Linked DNA regions of Homo sapiens: regions 2, 3, 4, 5, 6 and 7 are each linked to region 1. Evidence: promoter capture Hi-C in 16 types of primary human blood cells and fetal thymus (Javierre and others, 2016). All regions are on one chromosome and are shown on one strand. The core of a region is centred on a gene start or on the middle of the fragment in contact, and the rest is flanking DNA. Distances in the headings are between cores, read along the strand shown.

The links. Contacts are between HindIII fragments. The CHiCAGO score rates a contact against its expected background, and 5 or more counts as called.
Region 2: a contact is called between a fragment that was not itself captured here and the fragment with the promoter of STX7 in region 1, in 2 of 17 cell types (naive CD8 T cells and non-activated CD4 T cells). The highest score is 5.8, in naive CD8 T cells.
Region 3: a fragment that was not itself captured here is called in contact with the fragment with the promoter of STX7 in region 1 in 1 of 17 cell types (naive CD8 T cells); the score reaches 5.7 in naive CD8 T cells.
Region 4: a contact is called between a fragment that was not itself captured here and the fragment with the promoter of STX7 in region 1, in 7 of 17 cell types (naive CD8 T cells, naive B cells, activated CD4 T cells and 4 more). The highest score is 7.2, in naive CD8 T cells.
Region 5: a fragment that was not itself captured here is called in contact with the fragment with the promoter of STX7 in region 1 in 2 of 17 cell types (naive CD4 T cells and naive CD8 T cells); the score reaches 6.8 in naive CD4 T cells.
Region 6: a fragment that was not itself captured here is called in contact with the fragment with the promoter of STX7 in region 1 in 5 of 17 cell types (M0 macrophages, naive CD8 T cells, total CD4 T cells and 2 more); the score reaches 8.1 in M0 macrophages.
Region 7: a fragment that was not itself captured here is called in contact with the fragment with the promoter of STX7 in region 1 in 2 of 17 cell types (total CD4 T cells and total CD8 T cells); the score reaches 6.2 in total CD4 T cells.

Annotation. Positions count from the first base shown.
Region 1 is chr6:132,511,576-132,514,677 of GRCh38, forward strand. STX7 (syntaxin 7) reads right to left here and starts at 1,541. Exons shown (of 10, transcript NM_003569.3): 1 at 1,432-1,541. RefSeq lists enhancers at 789-1,290, 1,648-1,847 and a silencer at 1,008-1,497. The HindIII fragment of the contact is 4,830 bases long and covers 1-3,076 here.
Region 2 is chr6:134,085,257-134,088,641 of GRCh38, forward strand. It overlaps LOC124901404 (a long non-coding RNA gene), which reads left to right. Exons shown (of 3, transcript XR_007059774.1): 2 at 539-755. Among named protein-coding and RNA genes, the nearest start is that of SLC2A12, 34 kb to the left of the region's middle. The HindIII fragment of the contact is 7,307 bases long and covers 1-3,385 here.
Region 3 is chr6:134,055,096-134,058,051 of GRCh38, forward strand. No RefSeq gene overlaps it. Among named protein-coding and RNA genes, the nearest start is that of SLC2A12, 4.0 kb to the left of the region's middle. The HindIII fragment of the contact is 1,981 bases long and covers 471-2,451 here.
Region 4 is chr6:133,962,899-133,965,979 of GRCh38, forward strand. All of the region lies in intron 1 of TBPL1 (TATA-box binding protein like 1), which reads left to right. All of the region lies in intron 1 of LOC128092253 (umcharacterized LOC128092253), which reads left to right. Among named protein-coding and RNA genes, the nearest start is that of TBPL1, 11 kb to the left of the region's middle. RefSeq lists enhancers at 1-156, 1,775-1,944. The HindIII fragment of the contact is 2,807 bases long and covers 45-2,851 here.
Region 5 is chr6:133,981,972-133,984,971 of GRCh38, forward strand. TBPL1 (TATA-box binding protein like 1) reads left to right here. Exons shown (of 7, transcript NM_004865.4): 3 at 597-679; 4 at 846-909; 5 at 2,405-2,508; 6 at 2,606-2,700. Among named protein-coding and RNA genes, the nearest start is that of TBPL1, 30 kb to the left of the region's middle. RefSeq lists an enhancer at 1,494-1,663. The HindIII fragment of the contact is 1,639 bases long and covers 610-2,248 here.
Region 6 is chr6:134,102,064-134,105,234 of GRCh38, forward strand. All of the region lies in intron 2 of LOC124901404 (a long non-coding RNA gene), which reads left to right. Among named protein-coding and RNA genes, the nearest start is that of SLC2A12, 51 kb to the left of the region's middle. The HindIII fragment of the contact is 1,058 bases long and covers 907-1,964 here.
Region 7 is chr6:134,123,095-134,125,982 of GRCh38, forward strand. No RefSeq gene overlaps it. Among named protein-coding and RNA genes, the nearest start is that of SLC2A12, 72 kb to the left of the region's middle. The HindIII fragment of the contact is 271 bases long and covers 1,171-1,441 here.

The DNA.
Region 1 (3,102 bases), core at 291-2,790:
TAATCTACAGTGCCTGGTGCATAGTAAATGCTCAAGGAATGTGAGGGTGCTCTGTCTACATAAGTATCCTCTGCAAAAACTACATTAACTGTATTCTTTGGCCTTAGCTCTTTCATCACTGACCTTTTGTACTACTTGGTTTTAGTTCACAATACCGAGGATTGTTTTTTTCATACTTTCACACATGAAACTTGCAAATTAAATGGAATCACAGCAAACTTCACTCAGACTTACTGTGAATATTTTCTATAATTTACTTTTCAATCATCAGCACTTAAAGTTTGGGGTCATAACCAAAATAAGGATTGATTTTGTTATCAAGAGCAACATAAGTAACATATCTGAGGAAAAATTATGATGTTAATCAGTTAATATGGTATCATATTAACCTCTACAGAAACTGTGAAGTTAAGAGCATAATTCTTAACTAGTCACGAGTCTGAGGCCAACTTCTCAAAGTAGCCTATAAGGCCTGTCCACAACACAAAACACAGTTTAACACCGTTATCAGCCTCTGCCCAGGTGTGCTCAGAGAACCTGCAGAAGAAATGTCCACTTCCAACATTATTAAATAGCACAGCATTTCATAATTACTTTCTTTTCTTCCAGATTCTGGGCAAGTTTTATATATTATATATAATTATAGTCAGAATACAACGATCTGAGGTAAACAAAAATTAACGTATACAGATAAGAGCCAAACAAATGTAAGAAATTTGTGGGAAAAAACACACAGCATTTGATCAGAAATGCAACTTTTTTTCTTTGTCTGAATTTAAAGAAAGTAACTAGAAAACAAGGTGGAGGAAATACTAGAAATATTTTATGTACGTTTAAAGGTTTTTATGTAAATTAATTAAAGGTGTATACTCAAAGAATGTCAAAGTATGTTAAAGTCATCAAGCCAAATTAAAAAAACAATACTACGATCCTCTGAATAAATAAACATACACGGTTCGCCTGCTACAGCCATACATTTTTCAGTTCCTCTATATTCGGGAAGTTTAGTGTGTTTTTCAATCCGTGAGTTGAAAAGAGGAAGAGGTCATTTGGTCGTGTCTGGATTCCTGAGCTGGGCCCCAGCCGGCTCTGGCGCCCTCCCCGGGGTGCGCTCCGCCAGCCGTGCGCCTCCGGAGCTCTGCCCAGGGGACCGCGGCGGGTGCGTGGCTGGGTAGGCCCACCTGACCACAGCCGCGCGCACCCGGAATGCGGAACGCGCCGCGCCCTTGCACCCGGCCGGGGGGCGTGGGGAGCCGCAGGCGCTCCGGGAGCTGGGGCAGTCCCGCCCTTCCTAGCCTCCCGAGTGCCTGCTGCAGAGCGCAGGGCGGCGGCCACCTGACCACGCGCACAAACAAGAAGGCGCAGCAGCCGCAGGGGCACCGCGCCTCCCTGTCGCCCGGCCAGGGAGCCCCCTCCCCAGGGTCCTCTTACCTGGACCTCCACGGCTCCCTCCTACACCTCCGACCGCCGTCACCCACCTACCCCGGAGCCCTCAGCTGCAATTCTCAGCTGATGGGCGGTGGCGTGGGGACGCCCAGTGCGCATGCCCGCAGCACAACTCAGGAAGAAGGCGGGGTTCACCCCTTTTCTATTGGCCCGCGGGGCTGAGTGACAGCGGCCCTCACCGCCCCTCCGGTTCCAAGCTAAGGAATGGGGGTATCAGCAAAATTGCAAGGGAGCTGTTCTTTGAAGCCTGACGTAGAGATGGTGAACGCCTCTTAGCCTGCGTGCAAAAAAGGACAGAATGGAGGACAGTTGTCTTCTTTATCTGGTGAAGCCAGCCTTCTTGCACGCGGGTCTTCACCCCGCCCCATTAGCTCTTGCCTGTCTTGTTTGCTAACCTTTAACTGCAGTAGATCGCGTTGACAGCTCTATCGAAAAATGCAAAGGCGAGTACACAATCCTAGCAGGAACAATGAAGGAATAAGTGAAGAGTCATCTCTGGGTGCTCACTTGTAAACAAGTTTTCCTAGTACATACAAGTCATTCTAAGCATTCCTGAAAAGCAGGGCGTAGTTTTCACAGGGTTTAAAACAAGCAGAGACAGTTCCAATGATAAATATGCAAATATATTGTAATTGTTAGATGAAAAGCATCAATTGCTACAAATGAAAGAAAGCCCTCTCCAAATTAATTAGAAGATAGATTGGCTTAGCCTTTGCCTATATTAAGGCAACACTATTTTCTAAAATGATTACCCGGATAGGTGATATCAAAAGTCCAGACGCACTTAGGTGGAAAAAAACAAAACCCAGGATAGAATTCTGATTGGAACTCACCAACACTAAGTGTGGAATGTTGTCTGCTTAAGAGAGATGGACAGAGAAAGAATAACCCTGAAAACGAGTAACCCACAAGATAGGAAATAAACCAGGAAAAGGTAAACTAGAGAATGAAGGAAAAAAGGAGGGAATTGTCCATGATGTCACCTGTTACACAAAGTTCAAGTAAATAAAGAACTGAAAGTAGTGCATTGTACTTGAGAATTAGGAAGTGGCTGGTGAACGTAGGAAGAAACATTTCAATCATTGAAGGAACACATGAAAGGATCTTACATCCATGTGAGGTTTAGTGCACTTTCCAAATACCCATTCATATTACCTTTGATAGAACTCTGGGCTCCGGGGAGGGAAGGTACAATGCACTACAGAAGAACCTGAGATTAAGTGGCCTCTTCAAGTTACCCTGATAGTTACTGACTATGCTGGGCCCAAAACTTAGCTGTCTGAGCCCTCATCTTGGGCTCATTCCAATTCCTTGTTTTAAAATATGTTATGAGTGGATTCCTTCCAGGTCTTTTGAAAACTTAGAATAAGATTTCATCCTTTGGTATTCAAATGGGAAAAAAAAGAATTATAGTCTAGACAAACTTGCAAAATTTAGAAGTATTAAGATAAATGAATTACTAAGAGTTCCTGACACAGTATTCCATCTGTGAATCTGGCTGCTACCAAGTTAAATTCAGCCAGGTGTCTTGAAAGTGGTAGGGCTTTAAAAGTCTCCTAATTTGATGAGTGATAATGTCACATCTCCCAAAATAAATCATTTCCATGTGCAGAAGTTACCTATGACTGAAAGCTTGTAATTTGGATTTTCAGAAAT
Region 2 (3,385 bases), core at 866-3,365, 1.6 Mb after region 1:
TTATGTAAATTAAATCCAACTTTCTGTGATTAGAGCATGGTAGAAATTTGGCATGGTAACATGTCTTTTTCTTACACGTATTTTAAAAATCTTAACTAAACTAAAGCTATTTCTTGCATTTCACATTTGGATTTGGCAAACATGGTAAATAAGAAGAAAATGGATAATTTTTAAATGCTTCTGGTACATGGCTTTAGTCACAGACAAAAATTAAAAATGAGCTAGGCGTGGTGGCTCACACCTGTAATCTCAGCACCTGGGGAGGCAGAGGCAGGAGAATTACTTGAGGCCATGTGATGGTTAATATTAAGTGTCAACTTGATTGGATTGAATGATGCAAAGTATTGTTACTGGGTGTGTCTGTGAGGGTGTTGCCAAAGGAGATTAACATTTGAGTCAGTGGACTGGGAGAGGCAGACCCACCCTCAATCTGGGTGGGCACAATGCAATCAGCTGCCAGCACAGCTAGAATAAAAGCAGGCAGAAGAACATGGAAAGACTAGACTGGCTAAATCTTCTGGCCTCCATTTTTCTCCAGTGCTGGATGCTTCATACCCTCGATCACTGGACTCCAGGTTCTTCAGCTTTTGGACTCTTGGACCTACACCAGTGGTTTGCCAGGGGCTCTCGGGCCTTTGCCACAGACTGAAGGCTGCACTGTTAGCTTCCCTGCTTTTGAGATTTGGGGACTCGGACTGGCTTCTCTGCTCCTCAGCTTGCAGACGGCCTATTGTGGAACTTCACCTCGTGACTGTGTGAGTTGATACTCCTTAATAAACTCTCTTTCGTATATACATCTATCCTATCAGTCCTGTCCCTCTAGAGAACCCTGACTAATACAGGCTAGGAGTTCAAGACCAGTCTGGCCAACACAATGAGACCCCATCTCTACAAAAAATTAAAAAAATTAGGAGGGCATGGTGGTGCATGCCTGTAGTCCCAGCTACTCTGGAGGCTGAGGTGGGAGGATCACTTGAGCCCAGAAGTTCAAGGTTTACAGTGAACTCTGATTGTCCCACTGCACTCCAGCCTGGGCAACAGAGCAAGACCCTGTTTCTAAAAAAAAGGAATATAAATGAGAATAATAATAATCTTTATTAGTTTGTGGTTCAAAATCTTTTTCCTTTAGAGTTTTCGAAATAAGCAAGGTATGGGGACTGCAATAGATCATTTAAAGATCTTGAAGGAGATTATGGGGTTTTTGTTATTCTGTCAGATTAATATTCCTGATATGGTTTAGCTGTGTCCCTGCCCAAATCTCATCTTGAATTGTAGCTCCCATAATTCCCAAATGTTGTGGAAGGGATGCGGTAGGGGGTAATTGTATCATGGGAGCAGGTATTTCCCATACTTTTCTCATGATAGTGAATAAGTCTCATGAGAACTGATGGTTTTATAAAAGGGAGGTCCCTGGCACATGTCCTCTTGCCTGCCACCATTAAGACATGACTTTGCTCCTCATTCGCCTTCTGCCATGATTGTGAGGCTTCCCCAGCCACGTGGAACTGTGAGTCCATTAAACCTCTTTCCTTTATAAATTACCCAGTCTTGGGTATGTCTTTATTAGCAGTGTGAGAACACACTAATACACAGCCTTCTTAGAAATATGGTATTTTGGCCATCCAGTTATTTAAAGACTACTTTAAATCTGACAAGTGTTGAATCAACATATATGAATTTATTTTTCTGTTCAATAACTTTAAAAATTTTTGTATGAAGAGAAAAGAGTGATGTATCTTAGCCTTTTTTGTTTTTAACATTTTACTTTTCTCATTTTGAACCCAGTTTACTTGAGGTTAGAATTTTTTTCTCCATGTGATAGAATAGATGTGGGTGAAAAGATTATCAATTTTTACGTTGTTCGTATAACCGCTATATAGTTCAAGGAAAGGTCCTATCTTTTCCCTTCCTATCCTGCCCTCTAGCTCCCTCAATGAACAGCTACCCTTTCTAAGTAAATTTAAATTATTAGTAGTGGTTATGAATTTGATCTACAGTACTTATATGTGCAAACGATTGTATTATTTATTCTAAATTACATACATCAGTCATGTTTTGGGAGTGTCATTAGGGATCTGAGGACTTACATGATGCCCCCCAAACACATAAAAGGCATCTTGTCTTCACTATATCATTGCTGGGGTTGAGACACCCATCTGGCATATTTCCACTGCTGAGAACTATGCCTAGCACATCTCGGGCAGTCAATTCATATTTGTTGAATAAATAAATGAATGCTTGAATGGTTTATTCAAAGTGGGCAGGAAGAATTGTTACCTCAGTGTCCAAGGCCATGATCCTTAGTTGTTGGTGTCTGAAGGGGTCAATACATGGCACTTCCTTTTCTCTGCTACTTGAGTTAAGGACCCATTGAGAGACAGGTGCGGGAACAGTGCAGGTAGAGATCAAAATATCACTTTAGATACTGAGAAAACTAGGCTGGGGAGGATGACTGAATGGTTTGCTAATACCAAACCCCAGAGATAGACTGGTTCACCTGCCCAGCCAAGGCTGCAACTGCAGTCCTTGTTCCTTAGGGCAGAGCCTGGAGAATTGATAGCAGAAGAGATCAAGGAAGAATGGAATAGACCTGGGATGTGCAGACCTGGTTCCTTCCGCCAACCTATTCATCAGAGCAGTGGCTTCTCCTTGCCTGGGAGGACCAACAGTTATGGGTGGAGAGAGATTAGGTGTTTGACTCATGGAGTTCCCTCCATGTGGGAGGAAACATCAGGAAACACTCCCCTTGACATAAGTACACTCCCCTTGACATTAGTATTAATACTCATTATTAGTATTCAGTTCCTTTATCAGTTACGAGCCACCTCATAAGGAAGGTCTTAGGTCCTCTTGGGGCACAAGGACCCACTCAGCATGAACCCCCTAAATGCCAGTTTCTCCTCAGGTTCTGGAACCAATACTCCTGCATCCTTGTCTGGTCAGTTCTGGCTCCTCCACCCACAGTACAGGCCTCCCTTGATGGTCCTCTATTCCTGGAACAAAAGCCAAGCTGGAGGATTGGTGAGGCAGGGAAGGGCTTACTCTGAGCATGTTCCACCTTCTGTTTTTAGTTCAACAATAAAAATATCCTGACGTCAGGGAGCACAGAGTCAGAATCTAATTTCTTAGGGTGTGAAAGGAGGAAAAAACAATCCCATTCTTCAGGTTCCCTACAAAATTTTTTTAAAATGCGAATAAATATTCCAATAATTTATTCTGCTCCCCAGGATAAAATAGCATTTGTAATTTAAATAATAGGCATTTTGGTGGTTTGGTTTAAAATTCAGCATTGATAATGGAGAGGAAATACAGCATACAGTTTAACTCGTCCTTCCCCTCATGCTTCATTGAAGACTTAGCGCAGGAACTCAATAATTATATGTTG
Region 3 (2,956 bases), core at 211-2,710, 1.5 Mb after region 1:
GCCAGGCATGCAGTAGACACTTAATAAATATTTGTTAGATAAATGAGTGCTCACAAATAGAGCTTTTAGTGACTAAATAACTATTTAGTTTTTAAATATTAAAATCCATATGATGATTGCCTATGACATTTTGTCCTTCCTCTCTGTTTCTGCCAATTCCTTTAGACCAAGTATAACCACAGGCTATCCATCTTCCCTGGAGTTTGAGCCACTTCCATTATTAAAATCTGTTCCTCCACTCAAGGAATTCATAATCAGCAGACAGCAGACAGTTCATTCTTCATAACCCCAATAATTTTGCTACATACCACTTTGGACCACTGCTCATAGGCAATGCTACCAAATCCAAAAACACCTATCCTGACTTATAAACTGGCACAGCGGGGAAGAGGGGATGAAAGACAAGCAGCTTCACAGGGCTCGTAAACATCTACCATAGAGCATGCCTATTTTCATGGCAATTTTTTAAAAGCTTCACAAAAACCTTGTGAAGTAAATACCGTTACTTCCATTTTGCAGAAACTGAAACCGAGAAGTTTATGAAACATTTCTAAGATCAAAACATTTTCCAATGTTGAATTATAAAAATTTGAATCCCACAGGAAAACCTACACTCGACATTTTACCATGCTTGCTCATTCACATCTATATATAACAATTCTTCCATCCATCAGTCGATCCGTATTAGTTTTTATACATATCAAAGTAAGTTGAAATACTTCAGAATGCATATTATTAAATAGAGTTCAATACTAGGTTCTTTTTTTCAAGACAAAAAAGCTCCAGAAGCAACCAATTTTCTGATATTTTTCCACATAGATTACCTTTGCTTGTTCTAAACCTTAATTCATATAATGGAACCACAGAGAATGCAGCCTTGTGTAAGGAGTCTTTCACTGAGCATAGTTTTGATATCCATCCATGTTTTTATGTATATTAGTAGTTCATTTTGTTTATTGCTGAATAGTGTTATATGGGTGAATACACCACAGTTTATCCATTTTCCTATTGATGGACATCTGGGCTGTTTCCAATTCTTTGCTATTACACATAAAACTGTTATGAGCACTCTTGCACAAGTCTTTTTATGCAGAACATAACATTTCAGAGCACAGCAGTTCAAGTCCATTTGATTCCAAAACCCAAATGCTTTTCACTACACCGTATTGTTTCCCTGCAGTGCACCCTGCAGTGCACATTGATGTGGAATGCACCTTCTACAATGGTTCATTACAGTGTAAACACAAATGGGAAAATATGGTCTTTATGCAAACAAAAAAATTCCAAATACAAATTCACTTCTTGTTTAGCCTAATTGCAATAAAATATTCATCTTGGTATGATTGTTTGGAAGGATGTTTATTATTTCACTGTTTATACTATCTAAATAACTTCTCTATCTGAAAGTTTTCATTATGACTTCTTTCCTTAGGTGTAGAATATTATCACTCATAACATGTTGATTAAAGTTCCTCAAATTACAAAGTAAGTGTGGTTAAATTTATTATGGTATGTTCACTTGCTATAACATGTGATAAATCATTAAAAGAAAGACAATGTAGCAATGCAAGAAAATGTTTTTCCAATTATTTTAAGTGGGAGAATCAAAGTGGCATACAGAAAGTTGCATACTCATTACTATTACAATACTTTCTTAAAATATATGCGCCTATTGGTAGAGACTGGAAGGAAACTTGGAACAACTGAAAATAACTAATAGGTTGAGGTGGTAAATCATGTGTAAAAAGTACTGTCTTAAAAGTTGTTTGCTTAATGCTTCTATCAGATTGTATATATAATAAATATAAATTTGAAGAAAACTTCTTCATACTTAGGGCTGCCATATACCATTGTGCAATTTGGACACAGTACAACTCTAAGTGGGTCATTCTCATTTGCAGACAGCAGAAGTTTGCTTATTTATAAAGCAAATCTTCCAGAATATGACAATACTAACCTGAAGAAAGGGCAGCTTTTTCTAATTTGCTCAAAGGTACATTTGGGCAACTGATGGGGCTGTTCAAATTATCATCTCCCTTTAAATCACACCAATGTCATATCTATTAGTTTGGCCCATGTCTGTCTTTGTACTGCCCAGCTACGTGGAATGAGCACTGTTCTTCCTTTGATTAGCTATTTTTCCAAATAAAGTATTTTTAACTTAAAAATCTCTCTCAGTCCGATTGCCATGACCCTTGGATGGAGGGCATTAACAAAAAGCTGTTCAATGATTAAACCTTTCCTTGAGATTAACCTGCCTTTGATACCATGAAGTCAGAAAAAGTTGCTTGATCATACATGACAACAAGCAGTAGTTATTGGGTTGGGAACTCTGGTCTGCTTTCATTACATGTCCCTTGTTTGCCAGACAATAAGGAGGGCACTGCACAGAAAATGACTACTTTCCAAGTTTAAATAATCTGAATAACTCAGGGAAAATCTGGAGCAGAAAGCTTACTGAAATGCGAAACCTTGTGCTCAGCTTCTGAAGATGAACTCATTATATTTCAGCTCAGGTGGACATGTTAGAGCTTGTCACGGGCTTTTATTTTCTTCTAGGCTGCCCAGGATCAGAAGATCCTTCCTGTGTTGGGAATCCCCCTCTGCAAGGAAGAACCTGTCTCCTAAACAGAAGCTGGAAAGGCCTGATACTCCCTTTTCTCTTAGGACCAGGCTCTGCCAAGCAGTTCATGCACCCTGGATTTTGCATCAGAAGCTGTAGCACAAAGTAGCAGGATCTACAGGCCCCACCTTCCAGTGAGGATGGTGGCAGTGGCTCTGGCCAAAATATTTAATGTCAGAGTTGCTAGATATACACTGTTAGGTATGTGCTCAGGGGTGGCTAGATTAGCTCAAAGCAGGATTTGGGGAGTTATTCTTGACTACAGTTTCCAAGTTGGAGTTGGTTTCTGTTGCTTTAAACCAAGAACTAGGAATGACACCAGACTCAACTAGA
Region 4 (3,081 bases), core at 198-2,697, 1.5 Mb after region 1:
GGAACAGACAGAGAAGTATATGAGATGGGGAGAGAATTCAAGAAAGCTTCTTCAGAATCCAGGGATAGGACATGGCAAGGGAGCAGTTGGAGAATCAGAAGTTCCCAGTGCTTTATGCTCTAGAGTAGGAGGGAGTTTAAAGTGTGCCATTGAATTCAGCAATGAGCCATTCATTTGTAACATTTTGTACTGTGTAGAGGCAGAAGACAGATTATGCTGGTTTAAAAGCATGAAGTGGAGTTTGGGAAACAAGGGATGGTAAACAGAATGTAGAAGTCTTGATGTTCTCTGAAAAACAGTACTGATAGAAGAATAGAGCCCTTTTTAAGGATTTATGGAGAGGGAAATTCCATTATTTTAATTACCCTATGATGGTGTTTCAACCCAGTCGTTCTCAACTGACTACCCATTAGAAACATCTTGGAAATATTTTCAAAATTAGGGCCCTATCAAGGTCAATTAAATCTGTATTTGTGGGATTTGAGCATCTTCATAGTTATTATCTTGTTTCTGTTGTTTTGTCTTTTGGTCTTTTTATTTGTTTAAGACATAGTCTCACTCTATAGCCCAGACTGGAGTGCAGTGGTGTGATCATAACTCACTGCAGCCTTGACCTCCCAGGCTCAATCCTCTTGCCTCAGCCTCCTGAGTAGCTGGGCCTATAGGCACACACCACCACATCTGGCTAATTTTTGTATTTTTTTGTCGAGACAGAGTCTCACCATGTTGCTCAGTCTGGTCTGTAACTCCTGGCTCAAGCAACCTGCCCACCTTGGCCTCCCAAAGTGCTGGGATTACAGGCATGAGTCCACCAGGCCTGTCCTTGTCTTTTTCTTGATCGTTAAGAACCGGCCTGGCGCGGTGGCTCACGCCTGTAATCCCAGCACTTTGGGAGGCTGAGGCGGGCGGATCACAAGGTCAGGAGATCGAGACCATCCTGGCTAACGTGGTGAAACGCCGTCTCTACTAAAAATACAAAAAAAAAAAAAAAAATTAGCCAGGCGTGGTGGCGGGCGCCTGTAGTCGCAGCTACTCGGGAGGCTGAGGCGGGAGAATGGTGGGAACCTGGGAGGCGGAGGTTGCAATGAGCCGAGATCGTGACACTGCACTCCAGCCTGGGCGACAGAGCAAGACTGCGTCTCAAAAAAAAGAACCAATGTTCCAATCAGAAAACTTCCTTATCACTCTTGTGTGTTCTGTGTAAGAACCCATTCTTTTACTTGTATATTATCATTAAATTACTCACCCTACTGTTGTGGTAGTGTTCTTGACTTTCTCACAGACCATAATTTCAGGTTTTAAAAATGTATGGCTTTCTTCTGATCTCTAGCCAAGTTCTCTGTGTTTATCCTTTTTGAGTGACGCACCCTTCAACCAGTTACTCAGATCTGACAAGCTCTGAGTAAAATAAGAAATTCCTAATGGTGCTTACATGTGGAAAGAGTGTTCATTATGTAATCATGTTTGTTTTAAGTATATTTTGTACTGTTTTTTAAACCAGAAATGTTTGAACTGTTTGTTTTTTTTGTTTTGTTTTGTTTTTTTGGGTTTTTTGGGTTTTTTTTTTTTTGAGATGGAGTCTCACTCTGTCTCCCAGGCTGGAGTGCAGTGGCACCATCTTGGCTCACTGCAAGCTCCGTCTCCCGGGTTCACGCCATTCTCCTGCCTCAGCCTCCGAGTAGCTGGGACTACAGGTGCCTGCCACCACTCCAGGCTAATTTTTGTATTTTTAGTAGAGATGGGGTTTTACCGTGTTAGCCAGGATGGTCTCGATCTCCTGACCTCGTGATCCACCCGCCTCAGCTTCCCAAAGTGCTGGGATTACAGGTGTGAGCCACCATGCCCGGCCGAACTCTGTTTTATTTTCCCAAGTAACTAATTTCATAATCTGACCTTCCTTTTCTTAAAATGGCATTTGTGCATGACATAGACCTTAAACAGGTTGTCTATGCTAGAGCATTTTATATGAGGGGTAACTCTATAAAAACAGTCGAAACTATGAAAATAGGAAGTTTCACCCGTTGTATTTTCCCCATGCAGTACTTTCTCTTGATTAAATTCTTGATGAGTTATCAGTGCTTCAAGTTTGAGCCCTGCATTCACACCCTTGAAATAAATCAGAATATAGAGAGGCTTGATCTTGATGCATGCCAATTCTGACACCAACTTATGAGAAGATTTATTCAGTCTTTTAGCTACCCTAGTGAATTAACATTTACACTTGTAAATGAAACTAATAATCTTTTAAAAATTATGCTGTTTTGTTAGCATTAATTTAATGGCTAAATTAGTCTTACAAATTATAGTCACTTACAGTAGCTTAGGACAAATATCAAACTTCTCAGTAAAGAGATGAAACTTTTTAGCTTTTAAAATTATAGTCCGTAATATGGGAAGTAGGGGCACATATAAGACCTGCTCAAGAAAACAAATACCTTACAATTTAAATGAAATGAACATCATAAACTTGTATCACAATTTAATATCCAAACCCATTATGCTTCTAATTTTCCTGCTTTTTTGCAGGTACCTAATGAAGTAAAATCTAGCATAATACCTATTTCGTAACATGTAGTAGATTTGGTCAGTCTTTTCCTGTTTCATTTGCCACCTTCCCTGTCCCCACTCCCCTCAGCACCACCAAAAAAGAACCCCATGATCAACAACTATTTGCTTTGATTTGATGGTTTTGTTATTGTTGGAGTTTTGTGGGTTTTTTTTTTTAATTCACTGTTAAATTTAGTGCTTTTTTCAGTACTCATTTCACTTAACAGATACATCAAAGTTGTATTCTTTATTTTTACCACTTACTTTTAAACTTGAAGGAATATGATTTGCTTTTGTGTTCCAAAGCTTGAGGACTACAGTGAGTAACTAGAAATCCTTTCCATTTTTGAACATTTCTCCATCCATATGAAGAAAGGAGATATAATAATAGTAACAATAAGAACAGCTACATTTGAATGCTTGTCATGTGCAAGTACTGTGCCAAGCGCTTTATATGAAATTTAATTTTCACAACACTATGATGGGTTCTGTTTATCTGCCTTATTTTACAGAGGAGGATATTGAGGCACAAAG
Region 5 (3,000 bases), core at 179-2,678, 1.5 Mb after region 1:
CGATGTTGAACTTGAGTATGTAATAAGCATCTCAACTCTAGGATGCAATATAAAGTAGTGATGGGTACCATGAAGCAGCAGAAAGCAGAATTAGGAATTAGAAAGCAATGAAGGGATGGGTGTTTCAGGGAAATGATTAGGGAGGGCCTCTCTTCAGGAGGTGACATCTGGTAAGAGACCTGAATGAAGTGAGAATATTGAGGGGATAATATTCCAAATGAAAGCAACAGCTACTGCAAAGCTTCTGAAGCATGAACAGATTTGGTGTGTGTGAAGAACCATGCAAGTTCCAGTTATATGACTGGGGTGGAATGAGAGTTGAATTGTTTATATACTTGGAGTACATTGATTTCAAGTATATAGAGTGAGAGATTTCTATACACCTTGTATTTTTAATTAATCAAATGTCTTTTTGGATTAATATGTTCTTTGTGTTTGGTATTGTACTTGATTTCAGAATGGTAGATTTGGAGAGCAGTTATTGCAGTCTTGGATAAGCTTGGAGAGTAGTATTTGGACATTAATATGACTATATAGAACAGAACCTTATGTGAAAAATAATGCTTATGAGGTAATCAGATTTTTTTTCCCCCCAGAAAGTATTAATGAAGCTTAGAAAACCTAGAATTACAGCTACAATTTGGTCCTCAGGAAAAATTATTTGCACTGGAGCAACAAGGTAAATGCTACTTGGGTTTTTTGTTTTTATTTTTTACTTTTTCCCTCATGGAAAGGACATTTTCCTAGACTTAACAGCAAAATCATATGTAAAGTTTGTTATGTTCCTCAGTATAACATTTATTTCCTGTGTAACTGATAATCTTTTTCTTTCCTTAAAACCGTAGTGAAGAAGAAGCTAAATTTGGTGCCAGACGCTTAGCCCGTAGTCTGCAGAAACTAGGTTTTCAGGTAACGTTTTCAAATAGTATCTAAACTACAAATATTCAAGGACTTATTTTTATAGAATTAAAAATTGTAATAGACTCAAGAAATCACTATGCGTACTATTCTTATGATTAAACTTTTTCTAGGTTTTTTAATACTGCCCTTCAGTGTGAAAATTAGTAGCAAAATTTGGCTATGTGGGTATTTGTAAAGGATCCTAGCTTTTTCCCTAATTCCTTTCCCATAAAGAGACTTGTTTCCTCACAAGTTAATTTCCTTTTCAACTCTTTTTTAAGTGTTTTCACCTCTGACGTACACAAACAAAATGGTTTTTGGTCATCTCAAGAATGCCAGGTCAGAATGGTGAATAGAGAATGGCAGAGGCCGTTGACATGGACACACCAGCTGGCAGGCTCTCACACTTGTAACGTGACTGTCACTGGCATGTCAGCCTCATCACTATAACTTGATAGAGGTATACCTTTGAATAAAACGATTACATATTATGGACTTGCTAGGTCACTTGCAAATGATGAATAAATGAAAGATAAAGATGAGAATGGTCCCTGAAGATGAGGGCAAGGCTGTTTGGGATTGAGACAAGTTTGTAGAAGTGGGGATAGGAAGTTACCTTTCCCTCTGATGACTCAGTCTCTCTGAAGTAGAGGGTGATAGGAAGAGACTGAACGGCTGGTGGGGAGTGGGGGTTGGTGCTTGAGAAGGGTGGCAGTAGAGAGAGGCTTGAGTTGTACTGTGATTTGAGAGTGCTGCCACTTTGCGGTTTCCTGGCTTTGCGCAACTGCTGTGTGCAAGGCTGAGTTGAAGGATAGTTCGCTCACCCAAAATTGTGGTTTTAGGAGGAATGTTTGAAAAGATAATGAGATGAAACGAAGATGTTGGTTGGAGTGGCCAAAGTTATTAATGTTAACAGCATTATTTTCAGCCTTGGAACTTCTTTTCTTAGTGTAACATTAGAAGTGTTGAGAGAAATCCCAATTAGTTAGAAACAAATTTATCACTCTATCCCCAGAAAGAAAATAAACATCTAGCTAATCTCACAGAAATGTCATTTTGCCTTATTGCATATGAGAAAAACATCTGACTTTTGGAGCCCAGTGTACACTCTGTATTTACTGACTTTAAAGTGACATCTTTTCCATTTTTACTCTAGCAGGATGACCTGGACTTAAATTTTTTTTCCCTCACTATTCTCTCTCCTTTCTCAGTAGTTTTAAATATTTCACTTAAAGTATTAAAAAATTAAACATATGATTAGAAAGACCCATACTGTTTTGATCATGCAAATACCTCAGTTTTTAATTTTTTTAATGGAGTTTTTGAGCTTTTTAAAAAACTGAATTAAAGCTTTCCATGCTACACAACTTACAGTACTAAACATACACTTAAAATGTTTTTGTTTTATCTTGTTTGCTCTTGTTTTTAAGGATTGCCATTATGAGCAGATTTTTTGTTTGTTTGTTTCAAAATAAATTTATTGAATTTTACTTCTCTCCTAAAGGTAATATTTACAGATTTTAAGGTTGTTAACGTTCTGGCAGTGTGTAACATGCCATTTGAAATCCGTTTGCCAGAATTCACAAAGAACAATAGACCTCATGCCAGGTAAGTCTTTGAAGCAATTTATCTTGAGAAATTACCAAATTTGAAATTACTAGTCAGGGTATAAATATTTATATTAATTGTGGCTTATTTTGTGTAGTTACGAACCTGAACTTCATCCTGCTGTGTGCTATCGGATAAAATCTCTAAGAGCTACATTACAGATTTTTTCAACAGGAAGTATCACAGTAACAGGTATTCTATGATATTGAAACCACACTTATCAATTATGGATTGAATGATACAAGATGCTCATACCAAGATAGAAATAATGTGTGATTTGTTCCTTTCAGTCACTTCTGCCCTTTAGAGGAACCAGTCTCCTGACTTTTAACACTAGATGCATTTTGCCTACTTTTGTACTATTTATAAATGTTACACTTACTATTTTGTGTCTTTTTTCACTCAGCATTATCTTAGTGAGTTTCATCTATATTATATTCTATGTAGCTGTATGTAGATCATTCGTTCTTATTGGGCATTTGAGTAGTTTCC
Region 6 (3,171 bases), core at 186-2,685, 1.6 Mb after region 1:
TTGATCATTACACATTGTATACATGTATCAAAACATCACATGTGCCCCCAAAATCTGTACAGCTATTATATACCAATAAATTTTTTAATGTAAATTATAAATCATAGAACAGAACAGTCTCAGTGAGAAGCCAGCTCCAGAGCTGTGTGAGAGGAGAAGCTGGGCAGACAGTCAGACAGACCCTATGATGCCTTTATGGGTAGTGAGCAGGCCATAACAAATCCTCACTGTTGCCAAGGAAAGACTTTCCTGAAGTGGAGGCCTTTGCTGCATTTCATTTTCAGGAGAAGCAAACTTGACTTTTATTCCCACCGGGCCCTGTGGTCAAGTTGGAAGTTACCTTGGGCTTTCATCTGCATCTGTTGGCCTCCATGTGGGAGCTCTCTAGAGCAGAAACCCACTTATCTTTGAGATCTGTTTTGGGGTTGTGGAACTATGTTTTAATTTTTATTTATTTTTGTTTTATTTTGTTTTTTATTTTTTTGAGACAGGTTTTCGCTCTGTTACCCAGGCTGAAATGCAGTGGCGGGATTATGGCTCACTGCAGGCTCAAACTCCCAGGCTCGAACAATTCTTCTGCCTCAGCCTCCCAAGCAGCTGGGAGCACAGGTGCATGCCACCACACCCAGCTAATTTTTTGTTTGTTTGTTTTGTAGAGGTGGAGTACCCCTACATTGCCCAGGCTGGTCTTGAACTCCAGGACTCAAGGGATCCTCCCCCTTTGGCCTCCCAAAGTGTTGGGATTACAGGTGTGAGCCACTGCACCCAGCCTGGGTTGTGGAAATAAACAAAGACCAACTAAATGAGAAAAGCAGAAGCTATTTATCCAGAGCTTGCTGTAGCAAGGAAGTCAGCCACCATCACCTATGTTTGGCAGAGACTACAAGGCAGGCAGAGGAGCAGAAAAGCTTCATAGTGAGGGGAAACACAAGGCTTCAGGTGTGCCCTGACTGCAGGCTGTTGGCAGGGGGAAGCTGAAAGTGTCTATTGAGAAGTGGGGCATCCCGTGTGATTGGCTGGGGGCATATAATTGGCTTTCTCAGGTTGGTCCTAAGTTGGAAGTGAGAACAAAAATTAGGGAGGCTGCCAGTTACTAACCAAGTCCTGGACATTTTGTGCCAGTTGTGGCAGAAGTTCTTGTTTAGCTTCCTGGACGGTTACCAGAGGTAGCAAACTGGCTTCCTGGGCTGTTTATTGTAGATAAGGGGGCTGGTTTCCTGGGCACATTGCTGCAGGTTGTGGGTCTGAATTATATTGTTAAATACAGTCTGGCAATTGTACATTAGTAAATTTAGTCTTTCAGGGTAGTGGGAGCGTGAGTTGGGGTAACCACCGAGTGCTGGGTTCTTTCATGACCTTGTGGCTACACCTAAAGCTGTCCACAGAGGCTGGGAACTGCGGGTATCCCTGGCGCACCATTAGGAAAAAAGCTCCAGTCTGTGTACATGTCCCTCTCTCAGCTATTTTGGTTTGTGGCTTCTCTTCACAGAACACTTCATCAATATATGCCCATATGATGTCTATTTCCCAGGAATTCTTTGAAATTTCTGTTTCATTGATGGCACCCTTCTCCAGTTACCATATTCCTATCTCTGGCTGTTATTTTTGTCAGGAGAGGTGCTAAATATTTTTGTTACTGGATAATCTGTAGTGCTTGTTATGTTAGACTAGAAGGAAGGAAAGCAACTTTTCCACCCCTACTGATATTTGTTAGAAAAAAGTAAGGCTCTCAGGAGGCTGAAGTAGGGGAATCACTTGAACCCGAGAGGTGGAGGTTGCAGTGAGCCGAGATCGCGCCACTCCACTCCAGCCTGGTGACAGAGTGAGACTCTGTCTAAAAAAATAATAATAATAAATAAGGCTTAGATTTCTGGGAGATATGTTTTTCTGCACTGTCCTCTAGCTCTAAATAAGCACAAAACTACTCTTAAACTTCTTCGTTTTCTAGGAATTTTGCTGAAGAAAGCTTCACCATTTTGTTTGGAAGATTAGGCACATCAAGGAATTAAGCTGTAGCTGCCATGGATATGGGCATGCGCTTGGAGGAAGGGATGATAATAGTTACAGAAATATGGTGTCATCTTGTATATTTTATGCAAACCAAGTCAACTGACATAAAAGTCTACATTTTAATTGGAGTAATGGGGCACCCAAAGTCATTGGACTATAACAATTTCTTATAAAATTATTATATATATTTCTTTTATAGGAAGGAAATTCATTTTGATAGTTTCAGTTTACTTGCTCCAATAACTTTTTCCTTCAAAAATGGTTACTGGATTGGGCATTCTTGTGACACTATAGACATTATGTCACTTTTGATAAGTTTTAATTTTGAGAAGCCACATTCTCCACTGGTGACCAATTTTGGCTAAGTTACATCTATTCTGTAAAATTAAAAGAAAGTTTTAAAAAATCCATCTAGGAAATTGTCCCTCAAAATTATGCTGCACTCCAATGAGATTTATCATAGGTTTTAGGAAAAGCTTCTGTGTTGGTGCCCATCAATATGGAATTCCTTACTATGGTCAACAGTCAATTTAAATTGTAAATGTGTCATTTGAGTTACATAGTTATAGTAGTTCTGCAGATAACACTGGTCATCTTGCATTGAAGAGACCAGGATGTTCTTTTGATATAGTAACATTTTCTTTTCTTTTTTTTTTTTGAAATGAAGTCTTGCTCTGTTGCCCAGGCTGGAGTGCAATGGCACAATCTTGGCTCACTGCAACCTCCACCTCCCAGGTTCAAGCAATTCTCCTGCCTCAGCCTCCCAAGTAGCTGGGATTACAGGTGCACACCACCCTGCCCAGCTAAGTTTTGTACTTTTAGTAGAGGCAGGGTTTCACCATGTTGGCCAGGCTGGTCTGGAACTCCTGACGTTGTGATCCACCGGCCTCGGCCTCCCAAAGTGCTGGGATTATAGGCGTGAGCCACCACGTCCAGCCACGTTTTCTTTTAAAAATAGTGCTGTTATATCTAACGTAAACAAAGAATTGATATTGACTTTTAGCTTTGGCTCATAGGTGGAACAGACTTTGTGTTGAGAAAAATCATAATAGTTCTAGTATTTTCTATGTAGACAAGTTGGCATTAATATCAATAGACTGCCATTTGGTGTCAATTAGATATCATAAACACAATTTGTTTTTCCTCAAAGACTTTCTTCTT
Region 7 (2,888 bases), core at 56-2,555, 1.6 Mb after region 1:
AATGACTTTCCAGGTGTTACCTTAGTTGCTATATCCTGTCTCTCCCTAAACTCTTATGGCTCTACTATTGATAGTTTTTATTTTAACATTTGGTCATATACCAGCTTTGTATTGCTACTTAATTTATTCTTGGTTGTAGATCTAATTTTTTTTATGATGGAGTTTCACTCTTGTTGTCCAGGCTGGAGTGCAGTGGCATGATCTCAGATTACTGCAACCTCCACTTTCCAGTTTCAAGTGATTCTCCTGCCTCAGCCTCCCGAGCAGCTGGGATTACAGGAGCCTGCCACCATGCCTGGCTAATATTTGTATTTTTAGTAGAAATGGGGTTTCACCATGTTGGCCAGGCTGGTCTCGAACTCCTGACCTCGTGATCCACCCACCTTAGCCTCCCAAAGTGCTGGGATTACAGGTGTTAGCCACTGTACCCAGCCGACAGATCTAATTTTTTTAACAGAATTGAAAGATCCATGGTGATAATGTCCACTTTTTTTCTTCTTAAGCACAGGTGGCTTATACCTGAGCTGAAAGACTAAATTCCTTGAGCATGGGAATTAATCACTTTGTCCACAGAATCTAGGAAAGCATTTGATACCAAATTCCTGCTCAATAAAGTATTGAATTGAATGAATTAGGACAGGTGCTTGGTACGTGAGTTGAATAATTCACCTTTCTTCCAGCAGATGTCGCTAACTTTCAGGCTTAAATTTAAGGCTTTAATAAATAAGGCATTACATTTAAAACTTAGCTTAACTATTAAACTGATATTTATATTTTCAAACTGTAAATTTCTTCCTTGTGTTATTGTAAACTTCTGGAATTCCTTTTGCTATGCTTTTAGGAGTACTTCTTTGGCCAGTCTCCAATGGGTTCATTTCCTTCTGATTTTTTTTCCAAGCAGTGTTTTGCTTGCTGTACTCACAGATGATGAAGGTGGTTGTAATAGCAATGGCTGACAACGTGCTGGATGCAGGGCTAAGCGCTTCATGTGCATTATCTCACTTGAGATTCCTATAGCACCCCTGTGAGGTAGGAACTGTTATCACCCCTATTTTACTGTTGAGCAAACCGGGGAACATGAAGTAACTTAGTCAAAAGTCTCACAGCTTCAAGGTGACAGAATCAGAATTCAAACTTCAGAATTTTAACAATTTCAGCATGTTGTCATTAAGCTTTTTTCTGTTTCATTACACAGTTTTTGTAAACATCATTTTGCTAAACTTTTAACCTGGGTGCCAACGTTTGCTTATCACTAATAATATGTTTTGCAAATTAATAATAAAGTGAATTTTTTTAACATGTTCACTTTCTTCAGTGAAAATCTCAAAGAGTGGGCTTGTGCCCTTCACGTTTTCTGATTAGCATCTCTCATGCGTATTAGATTGGTACATTCTTTTTAACTAGAAAAATGGATGTTTGAACTTAAAAAATTTAAAACCCAAGCTTCTCTCTCACATCTAAACTGTATTCAAAATGCTTGATGAAGTTTTTTTCATCAAAGGCATATCTTTAAAAAGAACTCCTGCAAAACAGCGAGCACAACCCAGCACAGAGAAGTGCTCTGTAAGTGCTACCTATTAAAATTATTACTATCTTCATCTATATGGAAGCAAACAAAAAGATCAGAAAGAAAGCTATCAAGAAGATAAAAGAGATTGTTTAGGGCTATGGTGAACATTTATTATTTTTATCTGACCGACTTTTTTTTTTTTCTTGTACAGATGGGGTCTTGGTATGTTTGCCAAGGCTGGTCTTGAACTCCTGGCCTCAACTGAGCCTCCTGTCTTGGCCTCCTAAAGTTCTGAGATTACAGGCATGTTCCATTGTGCCCAGCCCCACTCAGTGTTTTTTCCTATCTGACTTTGGGAACAGTATTGTTCCTTATTTTGAGGACTTCTCCCATACACTGATTCTATGAGCTTTGGGGCAGCTGCCAATCATGGAATTGTGCTGTCCTGGCCACCCAGGTGGACATGTGATCCAGCCAGGCCAGGCTCAGCACTTCCTCAAGATTAATTGATCTGATATTCGGAGGAAAAAGTCCTTCCTCTCCTTTAAGGAAAATTAAGCAAAAGGAAACTAAATAAATTTTCTAAAAGCAGATATTTGCCAATCCGTGTTGAAAAAAATAGATCTATATTTCACAGCATTTACAAAAATTCCAAACGAATCAAAAGACTTAACAAACCTATTAAAAGAAAACAAAAAGGAGAATATACTTAAGAGTAGACCTTCTAAAACATTATAAAAATGCTAACGCCTTAAAAAATGGTGAATAAATGCCATTTTATCAAATTTCTGAACTTTTACATAACATCATTGCAAATAAGTTTAAAAGACAACTAGAAGACTGGGAGGAAATATTTGTAACATATATAACAATCAATGTTATTTATTTATTTATTTAGAGACAGGGTCTCCCTCTGTCACCCAGGCTGCAGTGCAGCGGTGCAATTATGATTTACTGCAGCCTTGAACTCCAAGGCTCAAGTGATCCTCCTAACCTCAGCCTCTGGAGTAGCTGGGACAACAGGTGTGTGCCACCATATCTGGCTAATTTTTGTAGACATAGGGTCTTGTTATGTTGCTTAGGCTTGTCTCGAACTCCTGGACTCCCACCTTGGCCTCCCAAAGTGCTGAGATTACAGGTGTGAACGACCATGCATGGCAATGGATTAATATCAAAATCAGCAAAGAACTCATAATCCATAAATAAGAGAAAAACGAGAATAAGAATAGACAATTCACAGAAGAGGTGGTATAAATGCTGAACAAACATATAAAAGATGCTCAACCTTGCCGCTTATCAGAGTGATACCAAACATAAATTTTTATGAAAAGTTCTATGAAATGAAATAAAATACCATGCCTGTGTCACCCATAATATT